Regions from separate parts of the Homo sapiens genome. Here region 1 is linked to region 2. The links are contacts of gene promoters, found by promoter capture Hi-C in human tissues and cell types (Jung and others, 2019). All regions are on one chromosome and are shown on one strand. Each heading gives the region's core, a stretch centred on a gene start or on the middle of the fragment in contact. The rest is flanking DNA. Distances are from core to core; before and after follow the strand shown. Region 1 overlaps REEP3 (receptor accessory protein 3). Region 2 holds the start of JMJD1C (jumonji domain containing 1C).

Evidence for each region. The method cuts DNA at HindIII sites, captures the fragments that hold promoters and counts their contacts. A contact is called where the count stands out against the background at its distance.
Region 1: a contact is called between a fragment that was not itself captured here and the fragment with the promoter of JMJD1C in region 2, in 3 of the 25 tissues and cell types used here (dorsolateral prefrontal cortex, hippocampus and spleen).

What each region holds. Positions count from the first base shown.
Region 1 is chr10:63,542,897-63,550,033 of GRCh38, forward strand. The region is part of intron 1 of REEP3 (receptor accessory protein 3); the gene reads left to right. Among named protein-coding and RNA genes, the nearest start is that of REEP3, 25 kb to the left of the region's middle. The HindIII fragment of the contact is 5,858 bases long and covers 1,591-7,137 here.
Region 2 is chr10:63,461,748-63,468,387 of GRCh38, forward strand. JMJD1C (jumonji domain containing 1C) reads right to left here and starts at 4,230. Exons shown (of 26, transcript NM_032776.3): 1 at 3,748-4,230. The coding sequence starts at 3,915. It overlaps JMJD1C-AS1 (JMJD1C antisense RNA 1), which reads left to right and starts at 3,482. Exons shown (of 1, transcript NR_027182.1): 1 at 3,482-4,816. RefSeq lists silencers at 3,343-3,682, 4,223-4,372 and enhancers at 3,462-4,251, 3,873-3,942, 4,023-4,192, 4,643-4,692. The HindIII fragment of the contact is 6,698 bases long and covers 253-6,640 here.

The sequences.
Region 1 (7,137 bases), core at 3,270-5,769, 81 kb after region 2:
CGTTCAAGGTACAGGATGCCACAGGTATCATCAGAGTAGCATCGTGCAGCCCTGCAGTTCTCTCCTCTAGCTATTCCTCATGCCATATTGCTGCCACGTTTCTCTATGTTTTATTATACCCCAGTGCTCCTCCCCAGCCATTCATCCAGCAGTAATGATTCACCCCTGGCTTTCTGTGACCTCAGGAGTCTGTGTTCACTGCCACCAAGGCCACCTGGAGTTTCTTGCTGCTTTCAGTTATCTAATACTGTGTAACAAACCACCCAATAACTTAGTGACTTAAAATAATAATCATTTTATTATTTCCCACAAATCTGTTCACATGAAAATTCTGTTCTACATTGGTTTTCTTTAATCTTTCTCATGTTTTAATAACATGGAAAACTTGTATTGTTTGGAATTATTTATTTATTTTCTGACACAGGGTCTCGCTGTGTTGCCCAGGCTAAAGTACAGTGGCACAGTCATGACTCACTACAGCCACCATCTCCTGGGCTCAAGCCATCCTTCTGACTCAAACTGCCAAGTAGCTGGGATTACAGACTTGCACCACCATGCCCCATTAAGTTTTTTTTTTTTTTTTTTAGAGACAAGGTCTAACTATTGTGTTTTAAAACCATAAAAGCAAGTCAAAGAACTGTCAGAATATTTAGCAGTTTGTCCATTTCTTTTGTCACATTTTCATTTTCTAGTCTCAACTTACGTAAATTGTGTGTACAGAAGATTCAGTTCTGCCTTCCTATCCACAGTAAAGAAAGGGATTTTTTTCTTTTATTCTTTCTGCAAGTATTTATTGAATACCTACTACGTATCAGGCCTGGGGATGCAGAGCTAAGCATGACACAGTTTCCGTTTTAAAGCAATACCCAACACAGAGACCACAAACGGGAAAGTCAGTGAACATAATATCGTCTGATGACAGTAATACTAGTAATACTTACAAAATGTGTACCGTGTGCCTGGCATTATTATATGGTTTAACTCATTTAATGTTCACAGCAAGATGTGTACTATTATTGTTACGTTTTTAGAGAAAAGCAAACAGACACAGAAAGGTTAACAACTTGCCCAAAGTCACACTGCTACTTCAAGTATGTACAAAATGTTATGAGAACATGGAGAAAGGGTTCCTCACCTAGAGGAGGCAAAGATATTTTCCCAGAGAAAATGAACTTTCAATTTCATCTTTGAAATTATCTTCCTTGTAAAAAGGCCCCAGTCAGAGAGAACAAAATATGCCAAGGCAGAAAAAAATAATATGACTCTCTTCAGAAATCAAGCAGTTCAATATCAGTGGGGCACAGAGATGCAAAAGATAAAACTGGAGAAGTCAAAGGAGTTAGATCAATTTGGTCTAACCTGCATAGCCTATGAGGGGATTTTTCTTTAATGAGAAAGCAAGGAAAGGTTGTTGAAATATTTTAAGTGATGATTGATATTAACAGGGGGTGTAAGGAAAGTGAATGAGGGCAGACAGTTCCCATGAAAAATAAGAAAGGTCAGAATTAAGGCTGAAGTGAGTATTTGGGACATGGGAACAGATATGAAAGAGATTTAGGGGAGGTGGGAGAATTTGACAAAACTTGACGATTGGGTGTGAGGAGGAGGAAGGAATTTCAGATTTCTGGCTTGGATCCTTGAGTGGGAGGTGTCAAACATGAGAGGAAGAAAAGGTTTAGAGAAGGAATGATGAGCTTAAACAACAGCAAGTGTGTTGTTGGGGAAAGGGTGAACAGAGCACTTTAGATAAGGAAGGTACACAGAAGCAGATGGGATGTTAGGGCAATGCTTTCATTTTAATTTGGATACTGGGTTTGCATGTGTTCATTTTGTTGTTAGACTTCATAACTTGCACATATTACATATATTTTCTAGTATGGATAATATGTAGTAAGTTTTTAAAGTAACATTTGGTAAAACTGCTATTGGAAAAAAATACCCTATGTTAAGATTTTGAGAAGACGACCCAATTCTCCCCGTATGTATATGCATTAGGGATTAGTTAAATGTCACCAAAGCAAAGACTATTTGATTTATATAGCTCTTCTTCATATGTTAAAAATGCAAAATACAAAGGAACAGTGATTTCTATGACCAGCAGAAAAAGTTATCATCTGCAACTCTGGGGTATTTATTGTGATTAGATTAATTTCTGTGGCTATCTTATTTTTTAATAAATACAAAGAAGACAGAATTAGCTATTTGAAGCAAATGAAAAACTTTGCTTTTTAAATTGTTTGTGGTGATTATGGGTACTTGTTTCTTTGTTTTAAATTTAATTTTTAAAATTTACATAATATATTTAGACATACATATAACATACAGTGAACAGATTAATGTAATTAGCATACCCATCATCTCAAATGTTTACCATTTATTTGTGCTGGGAATATTCAATATTCTGGTTCTACCTATTTGAAACTGTGTATTACTGTTAACTATAGCCATCCTACAGCGTTATAGAACATTTGAACTTCTTTTTATTTATTTATTTTTTTTGATGGAGTCTCGCTCTGTTGCCAGGCTGGAGTGCAGTGGTGCGGTCTCGGCTCACTGCAACCTCCGCCTCCCAAGTTCAAGTGATTCTTCTGCCTCCGCCTCCCAAATAGCTGGGACTACAGGCACCCGCCACCATGCCCAGCTAATTTTTGCATTTTTAGTAGAGACAGGGTTTCACCACGTTGGCCAGGATGGTCTCGATCTCTTGACCTCGTGATCCACCCACCTCGGCCTCCCAAAGTGCTAGGATTATAGGCATGAGCCACTGCGCCTGGCCAACTTCTGTTTTTTTTTTTTTTTTTTTTTTTTTGAGATGGAGTCTTGCTCTGTTGCCCACGCTGGAGTGCAGTGGCACGATCTCAGCTCACTGCAACCTCTGCCTCCGGGGTTCGAGTGATTCTTACAGGCGTAAGCCACTGCGCCCAGCCTCATCTTCTTTATGGTGTTACATTTCTGTTGAAGGTAAAACATTTTGTTTGGAATCAAATTTTCATTTAGTCTCGGGGTAACTTGCAATTTTAAATAAGGTAGTTGGGGAAAGCCTCTGAGAAGTGGATATTTGAACAGAGTTAAAGGTGAAGGCATTAGCCACACAGATTCTGGGGAAGAGTGTCCCAGGAAGGAAGCCAACCGGGTGTAAACCCTAAGTCAGGTCTGTACTCATCACATGGAGGTCAATGTGGCTGGAGCAGAGTAGTGTGACCAGAGGTGTAGGCCATTGTTAAAGACACTGGAACTGGCTCTGAGTGAGGTGGGAAGCTGTTGGAGGGTTCTGAGCAGAGAAGTGATATTATCAGATTTTGTGTTTTAAAAGCTCTACTACAGAGAACAGCCTGTATCGAAGCAAAGATGGAAGCTTGGAAACGAGTTAAGAGGCTGTATTAATAAACCAGCGAGTAGTGGTGAGTAGTGGGTGGTGACTTGGACCAGGCTGGTAGCAGTGGTCAGATGCTAGATTCATTTTAAAGATAGAACCCATAGGATTGTTTGACAGATTGGCTGTGAATATTCAAAGTGAAGAAACCTCATGAGTTCATGAAGTAGGGAGTAAGTATACCTAGAGAAGAGAAGAAAATGGACAAGTTATTTATAAAATGTATATGGAAATGCAGAGGGCCAAGAATAGTCAAGACAATCTTGAAGTAGAAGAGCAAAGAACAAAATACTGGGATGCCGTATAGATATTAGTAGTGGAATAAGTTACTTATATCAAGATTGATTATAAAGCTACAGTAATTACAACAACATGGTATTGGGTCAAAGATGGACACATAGATCAATAAAAAACACAGAGTCTAGAAAGTGACCCATACATATATAGGCATTTGTCTTATCACAAAGGTAGCACTACACAGCATTGGGGAAAGATGGCTATTCGCAATTATGATTGTATGCCAATTGGATATCCATCACTTGCAGAATCATAGTCACCTATCTCAGACCAAACACAAAAAATAAATTCCAGTTGGATCACAGATAAAAATAAAACAGTAAAGCTTCTCAAAGATAATATAGAAAACTTCTTCGTGACTTTTTTTTTTTTTGAGACAGAGTTTCACTCTTTCACCCAGGCTGGAGTGCAGTGGTGCAATCTCAGCTCACTACAACCTCCGCCTCTCAGTTTCAAGCAATTCTCCTGCCTCAGCCTCCCAAGTAGCTGGGATTACAGGCGCCCGCCACCATGCCCAGCTAATTTTTGTATTTTTAGTAGAGGCGGGGTTTCACCATGTTGGCCAGGCTGATCTCAAACTCCTGACCTCGTGATCTGCCTGCCTCAGCCTCCCAAAGTGCTGGGATTACAGGCGTGAGCCACCATGCCTGGCCAATTCTTCACGACTTTAAGATAACCAAAAACAACCTTAAACATGATACAGAAAAGCATTAATCATGAAAGAAAAGGCTGATAATGACAAATGGGAAAACACTAAAATTAAGCACTTCTCTTCATCAAAGACACCATTGAGAGTGAAAAAAGAAGCCAAAATGGGAGAAAATCACATGTAAATGCAAAAAATGGCTCATATTCAAAATATACAAAGAAAAATGGACAAGATACTTCACACCAAAAAAGGGGTGGGGTGCATGCAAGTAGCCAAGAAACATAGGAAAAGGTGCTCTCACTTCTTTTCCTGGAGTGGTGGCAACATTATGTAATGCTGGACCACATTTCTATCCTCTTTTTATATCTTTGGGGAAAAAACTAGAGATTCCTGGGCCTTTATTTGTACCATCACACCTTTAGGATTGCATAGGAATCAAGATTGTTCAAATTTAGCCTAAAATGTGAATGGTTGTACATTTAAAGAGAATAAAAATGTATTCTTGAAGATGAGATTACTATTTTAAGAAAAGCTCTTCTACCATTTGCATCAGATAATATTGGGCACACTCACACTCATGCATAACCTCTTTATTAAGAGTTGGATGCCTCAGCCTTGCAGCTAAAACCTGTGGAATGGAGAATGAGGTCAGAAAAATACCACTACAAACACTAACAACTCATATTTTAAAAGAAATATCACCAGGGAAGGAGAACACTGAGACAATTCTGTACAAAGAATGCCTATTTTCTTCTAATGCTTCAAAATCTATTTTGACGTTTTTCCCAAGGATGTAACCTAAAGGTAGAGGCTGCCCTGAGTGTCACTTATTGATTGTCATAAGAAGATTTTCATGAGATGGCACTGGGATCCAAGGTAACCAGCCTGTGTTCAGCGGGGACTGGAAGTGATAAGGATAGAAAAGCATCTGTGTTTAGAATGCTCCAATGAGCAATCAGCACTCTCCTGAGATGACCCTTTACTGTTGCTAGGCACTCATTTCTGTTTCTGGAGTGGGTGGCAACATTATGTAATGCTGTACCACATTTCCATTCTCTTTATATATCTTTGGGGAAAGAATTAGAGCTTCCTGAGTTTTTATTTTGTGCTATTAAATCTTTAGAATTGAATAGAAATTGAGATTGTTCAAATTTGGCCTAAAAATTGAATGATGGTACATTTAAAGAAAAAAAAATCTATTCTTGAACATGCAATTACCATTTAAAGAAGAGCTTTTTTACCATAAGCATCAAAGAACATTAGACACTCCCCTGCATAAGCAGTAGTTTAGGTGCTTAATTTACATAATTCACATCAAGTATAGGGAACTCCTATACCTCTGTTTTATTTATCTATTCCCAGAAGTGCCTAATGAGAAACTGATTTTCTTTTATGGATATTTCTGATTGTCCTTTTTTAGAACAAAGCTGCTGAAAATTTAAAGATCAGGTTTTAGGGTTTTATTTTCAGCAAAATGAACAAAAATGTAACTGCGATGGGCCCTCCCATTGAAAAAAAAAATGCTAGCTAAAATATTTATTTAATTACGCTTTCTCAATGCACCAGTCAGGGAAGCCATTCAGACCACGAGTTTTTGTATAAACAAAATGATAATCAAATACTACTTGATAACATGGTCAACCAAAAACTTTAGAACCAATGAATATTGTATAAAGAATATACTACTGTTACATGTAAGTTCTCAGAACTGGAAATGTTTGATGGTGATCTCTTGTAAGAGTCAAAATAAGTGCCCTTTGAGTTTTTTTTTTTTAAATGCACCATTGAGTTTATTAAAAAGTACAGCTTACTCAGAGGCCAGAGGCCAAGAAAGGTAAAGAGAGAACTAAAGCCACCTTTCACCTAAGGACATTTCCTGAAACCTGATAACCTTGACATTTTGGTTTTCATGTTCTCATGGGGCATGTTGGGCAAAAAGCAACACCAAGGACTGACCTAGTGTAGGTAGTCTAATAGCATAAAGCTAGAAACCAAAGAAATAAAGAACTATGTCTCATTTATTCCATAGAAGGCAGAGGTGTGGAGTGGGGAGAGAGATAAAGAAAGAACAGCCAGGTGTGGTGGCTCATGCCTGTAATCCCAACACTTTCGGAGGCCACGGCTGGTGGATGACTTGAGCCCAGGAGTTGGAGACCAGCCTGGATAACATAGTGAGACCCCATCTTTACAAAAAATTTGAAAGTTAGCTAGCCATGGTGGCCCTCGCCTGTCATCCTAGTTGTTCAGGAGGCTGAGGCAGGAGGATCCCTTGAGCCCAGATTTTGAGGCTGCAATAAGCTGTGATGACACCACTGTACTCCAGTTTGGGTGACGTTGTCGAAGGGAATAGAGAGAAAAGCTGCTGATCTAAGTAACTTTGGAAATGATTGGAATCAGTAAGACTGAACTCAAAAAGACTCGTACATGATACTACTGTAGTTGATAAAGTTGTATACCATGAATGTGTATGGTTAGCAATTCTGAAACCACCATATATGTTTACTGGAATTAAACAGTTAAGTAAATGTTTCTCATTGTTGGAATGTTAGGGTACAGATAAGAAAGGGGAGGAAGCTAGAATGATCCACGTGGGGAAGAGGAAAGATGAGGAGGGAAGGAGGCATTCCAGCTAAGAATCATAACCCAGGATTGAAGTTGAAATACAAGAGGCATATTGAGGAAACCATGCTGGAACAGATGGTTTATATAGGGCAGTGCTTTTCAAATTATGTTCTGATGCACTCCCACAGAGGCTGGCCAGCAAGGGGTGAGGAGGCCTGCTAGTGAAGTCTTTAAGTGAGGCAGTGCTGCAGGTGTA
Region 2 (6,640 bases), core at 2,980-5,479:
GACAGAACTGGCTTGAAAACAGAAATACAATCAACCTAAGCATCAAAGAAAGGTAGATAGATGGGTGTATGGATGAATGGATGGATAGATAAGCAAATAAATAAATCACTGAGATCATAAATGGAAGCGAAGTTAAACAAGAGGAGAGTAAATTGATGTCTGCTATTTAATTAATATTACAATATTATTCAAGGAGACAAATATTATGCAACAGTACTTCTCAACTGCCAGTTTTCCTTAAACTATCAATTTTCTAGAAAAATTCCTCAAAAAGTAGAACAGCAGTAATGTCAAAAATGTATCCCAAGACAAAACTCAGTAATGGGGCTAAAAAAGAAACTCAAAATGAAAAAGGTTCACAATGTGCTGTATATATTTCAACTTCTTCAACAACTTGGTCCTCCTGCATAAAAAAGGCTTAGATATTTTGTTAGCAAAGATAATTCCAATACAGATAACCCAAAAGGTTCTCACGCCATATTTTTAAAAGTTGACAAACTATTTGAAATTATCCAACATAACCTAATGAAAACTCTATTAATTAAACTTATTACTTAAAAGATTAGAAAGTAATATCACTATAACCCCTGGCTGAAAAAATAAAATTTTAATCTTACTTTATTTGTATTAAATTATATATGTTCATATTGTACAAGAAATATGTTTGCTACCACGGTGTGGTAAAAAATAATTTAATCCCAAAGATATCCATGTCCTAATCCCAGGAACCTGTAACTGTTACATTACATGGCAAAGGAGAATTAAAGTTTACAAGGAATTATGGTTGTTAATAGATGGCAAGATTATCCTGGATTATGTCAATTGGCCCAAAGTAATCAACAGGGCACTTACAAGTGTAATGGGGAAGCAGGAGAGTTAGAAGGAGATGACTAGGGAAAAACGGTCAGAGAGATACAACTTGGTTGGCTTTTAAGATGGAGGAAGGGGGCCATGAGCCAAGGAATGTGGACAGCTTCTAAAAACTAGAAAAGGAAAGAAAATGGATCTCTCCTAGAATAAACAGTCTTGCCACACTTTGATTTTAGCCCAGCAAGATCCAGGTCTTATTTGTGATCTCCAGAACTACAAAATAATAAGCGTATAACATTTAAACCACCAAGATTACGTTAATTAAACAATTATAGAAATTTAATTCACGTGGCAATTCCTCATACATAAGACCCAAAATAAGAATAACTGATTATCTTTGAGACACAATATTCCCTCAACTACTTTGAAGTTCTTATCATTATCCTTCCAAATCATGTGCCACAGGTTTGTGGCACATGTCCTGCCTGGTGTATCCAGCCAGGACTTCTAGTAGACTTAACAGGTTTTTAATTATACATATTTGTAGCTTTAAAAAAAAAATCACAAACTAGCCTATTCAACATTTTCCATATACTTTCTTTTTACATATTTATTTATTTATTTAGAGACAGGATCTCACTCTGTCGCCCAGGCTAGAGTGCAGTGGCATAATCTTGGCTCACTGCAGTCTCAACCTCACTGAGCTCAGGTGATCCTCCCACCTCAGCCGCCCCAGTAGATGGAACCACAGGCATTGTACTACTATGCCCGGCTAATTTCTGTATTTTTTGTAGGGACAGGGTTTCGCCATGTTGCCCAGGCTAGTCTCAAAACTCCTGCGCTCAAGTATCTTCCCATCTCAGTCTCCCAAAGTGTTGGGTTTACAGGCGTGAGCCACTGTGCCTAGCCTAATTTCATGTAACTTAAAATCTACTCTGCAGTAATCAAAGTCGAACAGGAATATTACATTATGTTAATGCTAAACTGTTCCAAGTTTCGTTTAAGAAATGTGAATGTAAGAAAATCTGGGAATAAATCTAAAATGGTAGATTCTAGGCTAAAAAAACTAAATTAATATTCAAATTTTCAAATAAAGACAGATTAAAAAAACTCATCAAGGGTTCACATAGGTATGGTTCAACATACATTTTTCTTTTTTTGGTAAAATTTAGATATGGTGAAACGCAAAGATAGTATCAATTCAACGAGTTTTGACAAATATATATATCTGTGTAACCAACAATCAGGATAGGAAACATTTCTATCACCTGAAGAAACTCCTATTCTTTCCAGTCAATCTCTACCATCCATAGATAATTTATTTTTTAATATCCAGCTTAATACCTTACTAACATATGCAAACTTAACTCTTTAATCACTTAAATTCCCAACTAAGAGAGCAATTAAGTTATTTATATATACAAATTTTTTTTTTCCTTTTTTACAGATGAGGGGGTCTCACCTATGTTGCCCAGGCTGGACTCTTAATAAGTCCTGGGCTCTAGCAATCCTCTTACCTCAGCCTTTTACACAAACAAAAATAGTTACTGAATTGAACTGCCATAATTTTTAGAACCACTAACATCACCAATACTTTTTAAGGAAGATTATACATTTCTATACGAAAATAACCAGCCAAAACCTTCAAAACTACCTCTATTTTCTGTTAGAAATACCTATCAGCAAAACACACCTATTTTGCGATATCGAGTCAATATTAATACATGCCGCATTAACCATATCATTGACTACAGTGAGGAAAACCCGAGTTTACAAAAACACACTCAGAAACTATTAAAATAGGTAGGTAAAAAATATTAGGTAGATACCTGTACAAATATTACAATGAATTTGGAATTGTAAGCTTTCATGCACACAAAGGGAAAAAAATTTCCTAAATTTGAAGTTTTCATTGAAAAAGTAAATGGCTCAGGGCATTACAAATAAATTTCACAGATTACGTATTCATAAATCAACCTTTGGAAGTCTAGTCCATGTCTTGTCTCTACTCCGCCCCTTACCTTCAAGCTGTCCCTCAGTGAGAATGTACTTGGAACACAACAGAGCATATTACAGCTCAATATCATGCACATACCTACGCTACTCAAAGAAAGCACTGGCAGCGTCACATGTAAGAAACCAAAAAAAAAAAAAGATAATCAATTCTGCATGGCATTTAACATTTTAATTGACAACATTTTTCGTCTTATTTAAAATCGTATAAAACCCAGAAACAGCTTGACTCCAAAGAACTATACCTTTCTAACAAGAAAAGCACATTGGGGACAGAAAGAGAGATTACCCTCCATACCAAAATTTTTCACTTTTATCCTTTACGGTTAGAAAGCCAAGCATCTATTAAGGAGAGGATGAATCCGGGCACAGCCACCACCACGGCCTCTGCCTCTAAAACACATAGGAATCCCCGGACTGTGTGGGAAGGTCTCTTTTCTTTTCTCCCTCCCCTTCAGCAACCTTACAGGATAAGTTTTAAGTCTCGAGCTACAGCACTATGAAGACTTTTCCAAGAAAAGAGATACCAGGGAAGCTGGCCGCCTGTCGCCATGAGTGGTCCGCCCCCTACCCCCACCTGCCCGCGCGGCGCCGGACTCGCGGCTCCGCCTTTCGGGGAGGTCTCCGTGGCCGCCCAGGCGCCACAGCGGGGAGCCGCGGTCGACCCCTCCGGGATGGGGGCCAGGGCAGCCTCCGCGGCTATCCCGGGAGTCCTGCTCCGACACCACCTCCACAGGGGAAGCCGCTCGGAGAGACGCAGGGACCCAGGCAAGGGATGCGGGCAAACGCGCCAAGGGTTCAGCAGAGGGGCGTGACCGCCAGTTGGCCGGGCTGAGCGAGGCGCCAGAGGGAAGCCTGCAAGGTACGTCTGCGAGAGCCGGGTGCGGGCGCGGCAGGGGAAAAGGGGGGCGCTGACTCTCTTACCGCCAGGTCCGGATTGCGGCTGTCCCTGTGTGACACGGCTCGGATGACCCCCGCTCGCCAGCTTCGCCAGCCGCGTCCGCTCTCCCAGCGCTCCGAACGTGCCTCGTCGCCGACCGCCACACACAGGAACCGCTTACCCACCAGCTCTGCCCGCGTCTCTACCGCCATAGCTGTCGCTGCCGAAGCGGCCGCTGCCTCCTCCAGTGCGAGGGAACCGATGAAACCTCACTCCTACCGGCCGCTCATGCTGAGGAGAGCGGACCGGGACACAGCAGCGGACCCGAAAGAGCGCAGACTCGGGACGAACCGGCCGCTCTGCCCCGGACACAGCGACCTCGGGCCCTCCCCGCAAACACTCCTTTGGACTCCCAGATTCGCAGCCTTGTGCTGCAGCGCCACACAAGAAAACTGAAACAAAACCCAACGCGGCCGTCGAAGACCCCGAGGCAGCCCAGCCGCCGCCACCGCGCCGCGGCCAGTACTGCTCCGTCTCCCTCCCCGGGCAGCGGCGGCGCGCAGCGCGTCTCCTTCCGCCGGCGCGGGCGGGGCAGCAGCCGCGGGAGGGTCGGCGGAACCACCGCAGACGGAAAGTAGTGCCCGGCCCTGCGGAGGCGGCAGCGGCCACTGGGTCCGTCCAGATCCAGAGGCGGCGGCGGCGGCGGCAGCGGGAGACGAAAAAATGAAGAGGGCCGCGGGAAAGTAGGCGACAGCTATTCAAAGCTTTTGGGGGTCTACCTTTGTATTCGTTGCTCCCTCAGAGGTGGAGGTGAGGGGAAAGTGAAGTGTAGTGGTTCCACTCTGATCACAAAATAAACTCCTGGGTTGACGCCTCACCCGCGGTTTGATGTTCAGAGCACACAGCGCCCGCCGCCTGAGTTAGCCTGAATTAGCAGTCCCGCAGTAACAGCAGCAGAGCAGGACAACACTTCTACTGAAAACTAAGCCCCAAAGTCACAGCAGAACCAACCGTTCATGACTTCAAGGGAAAACGAGGGGGAAAATGTGATCCTTTCATTCTTCTCATTTGTGGTGATACTAATTACATGTTTAAGCTATTCACAGATTTAAATTCGTCACTGCTTTATTATAAGAACAGCAAATGCTCCGTGGCGGGCCCTTGTCAACGTCCTGAAATTTCACAAACCGTGTCTGCGACAGTCTTAGTACTTTTAGTACTGGTACACAGCTCAAACACACTGGTCAGATAATAAAAGCAGAGAAAATCCCCAGATTCAGTTATTAGAAAATACCATGGAAAGAAAAGGATTTTAGCCAATCACAATTCAAGAAAAAAAATATTTATTTCCCATCCAATTACAATCGGACTCCCTAACCCACACAAAGATCTCTAACTTGGAACAATCACTCTTCTTTGATCAACTTATTTGTTATAAATCAAACCTCCCTACAAATGTCAGTGAGCAGTTCGATTTCAGGCACCCTTTATACTGCTTTTTTATAGGTAGTCCAATATTCTAAATTTCAGTTTCTTGAGATTTTCCTGAACCTCTATTTAAAAAAAAAAAGTTAACAGAGTTTACAGTAGTAATCTGAATGTTTAAAATAACTATAAGGCTTTTATCTGTTTTCTCTAGAACACTCAAGCTGGGCAATTTGAAGTGGAGAAACACAACCACTGCTAATAGGTTAGAAACCAAAATTATAAGGAAGATGGATTTTAATAATCATGGTCAAATTTTGCCAAAGACCAAACATAGAACTGTAATAAATAGGCTGGGCACGGTGCCTCACGCCTGTAATCCCTGCACTTTAGGAGGCAGATCACCTGAGGTCGGGAGTTCGAGACCAGCCTGGCCAACATGATGAAACTAAATGTATTTTTAGTCTCTACTAAAAATACAAAAAATTAGCTGGGCATGGTGGAGCATGCCTGTAATCCCAGCTACTCAGGAGGCAGCAGGAGAATCACTTGAACCTGGGAGCTGGAGGTTGCAGTGAGCCGGGATCGTGCCACTGCACTCCAACCTGGTCAACAAGAGCAAAACTCAGTCCCCCCGAAAACAAACAAACAAACAAAAAACCTGTAATAAATTAAAACAGCAAAACATACCCAAAAATGCATATCGGCAAGTTGAGAGAAAAAATTTTGCTTGGGCAATTTTATTTCCAAGTCCACTTTTTCAGTGTACACTGTATAATACTTAGCAAATTATCTTAAGAATTACAGATGAAGATTTCTAAAATCAGTGTAGATTAAGGAACCAGTAAAGTGACTTGGTGACAATAATTCAACATATGTAAGGATAAAAGAGTAGGGAGATCAACATCCAGATACCAAGTCATCAATGATCTGCTTTGTGACCATGGGCATGATGCAATTGTAAAAATGCAAAAATGCCTGAATCCTAATTTTCAGTGATATCCTAGGAGCAAACGAAAAATACAAATAAAGTCATTTGAGAAAAACATGCAAATTCATCAGTTATTACATAAATCCCACTCACCAAATTACATTCTTAAGAGTATAGGTTGCTAGTTGCCTTATATAAAACTGCCAGCTGTTTTCAATTTTGTAGGCAAACTGCTCTAAATGGGCCCCTGGGAACTCCCACTACATGTTGAATTCCATCCTTTTCAGTCCTCTGAAAAGCATGTAATCCAACAAATCAATCAAAATATTTCATGTATAGAAACAAAGTTTTTCAGGAGGGCATATATCCCCAAAATATTTTTAATCAAGTATCTTAATATTCTTAGAACTCTGGTCCAAATTCTCTTCTACTAATCCCTTGACTACAGCCAATGCCTAGAGTTTACACTAATTTGTGGATATTTTGCTGTTGGAAAAATTTAAAAGTACATTTTTTTAAATGTAGAATAAAAAGTCCTTAAAGATTTTTTGTTTGTTTGCTGGCATTTTTTGCTTCGTTTT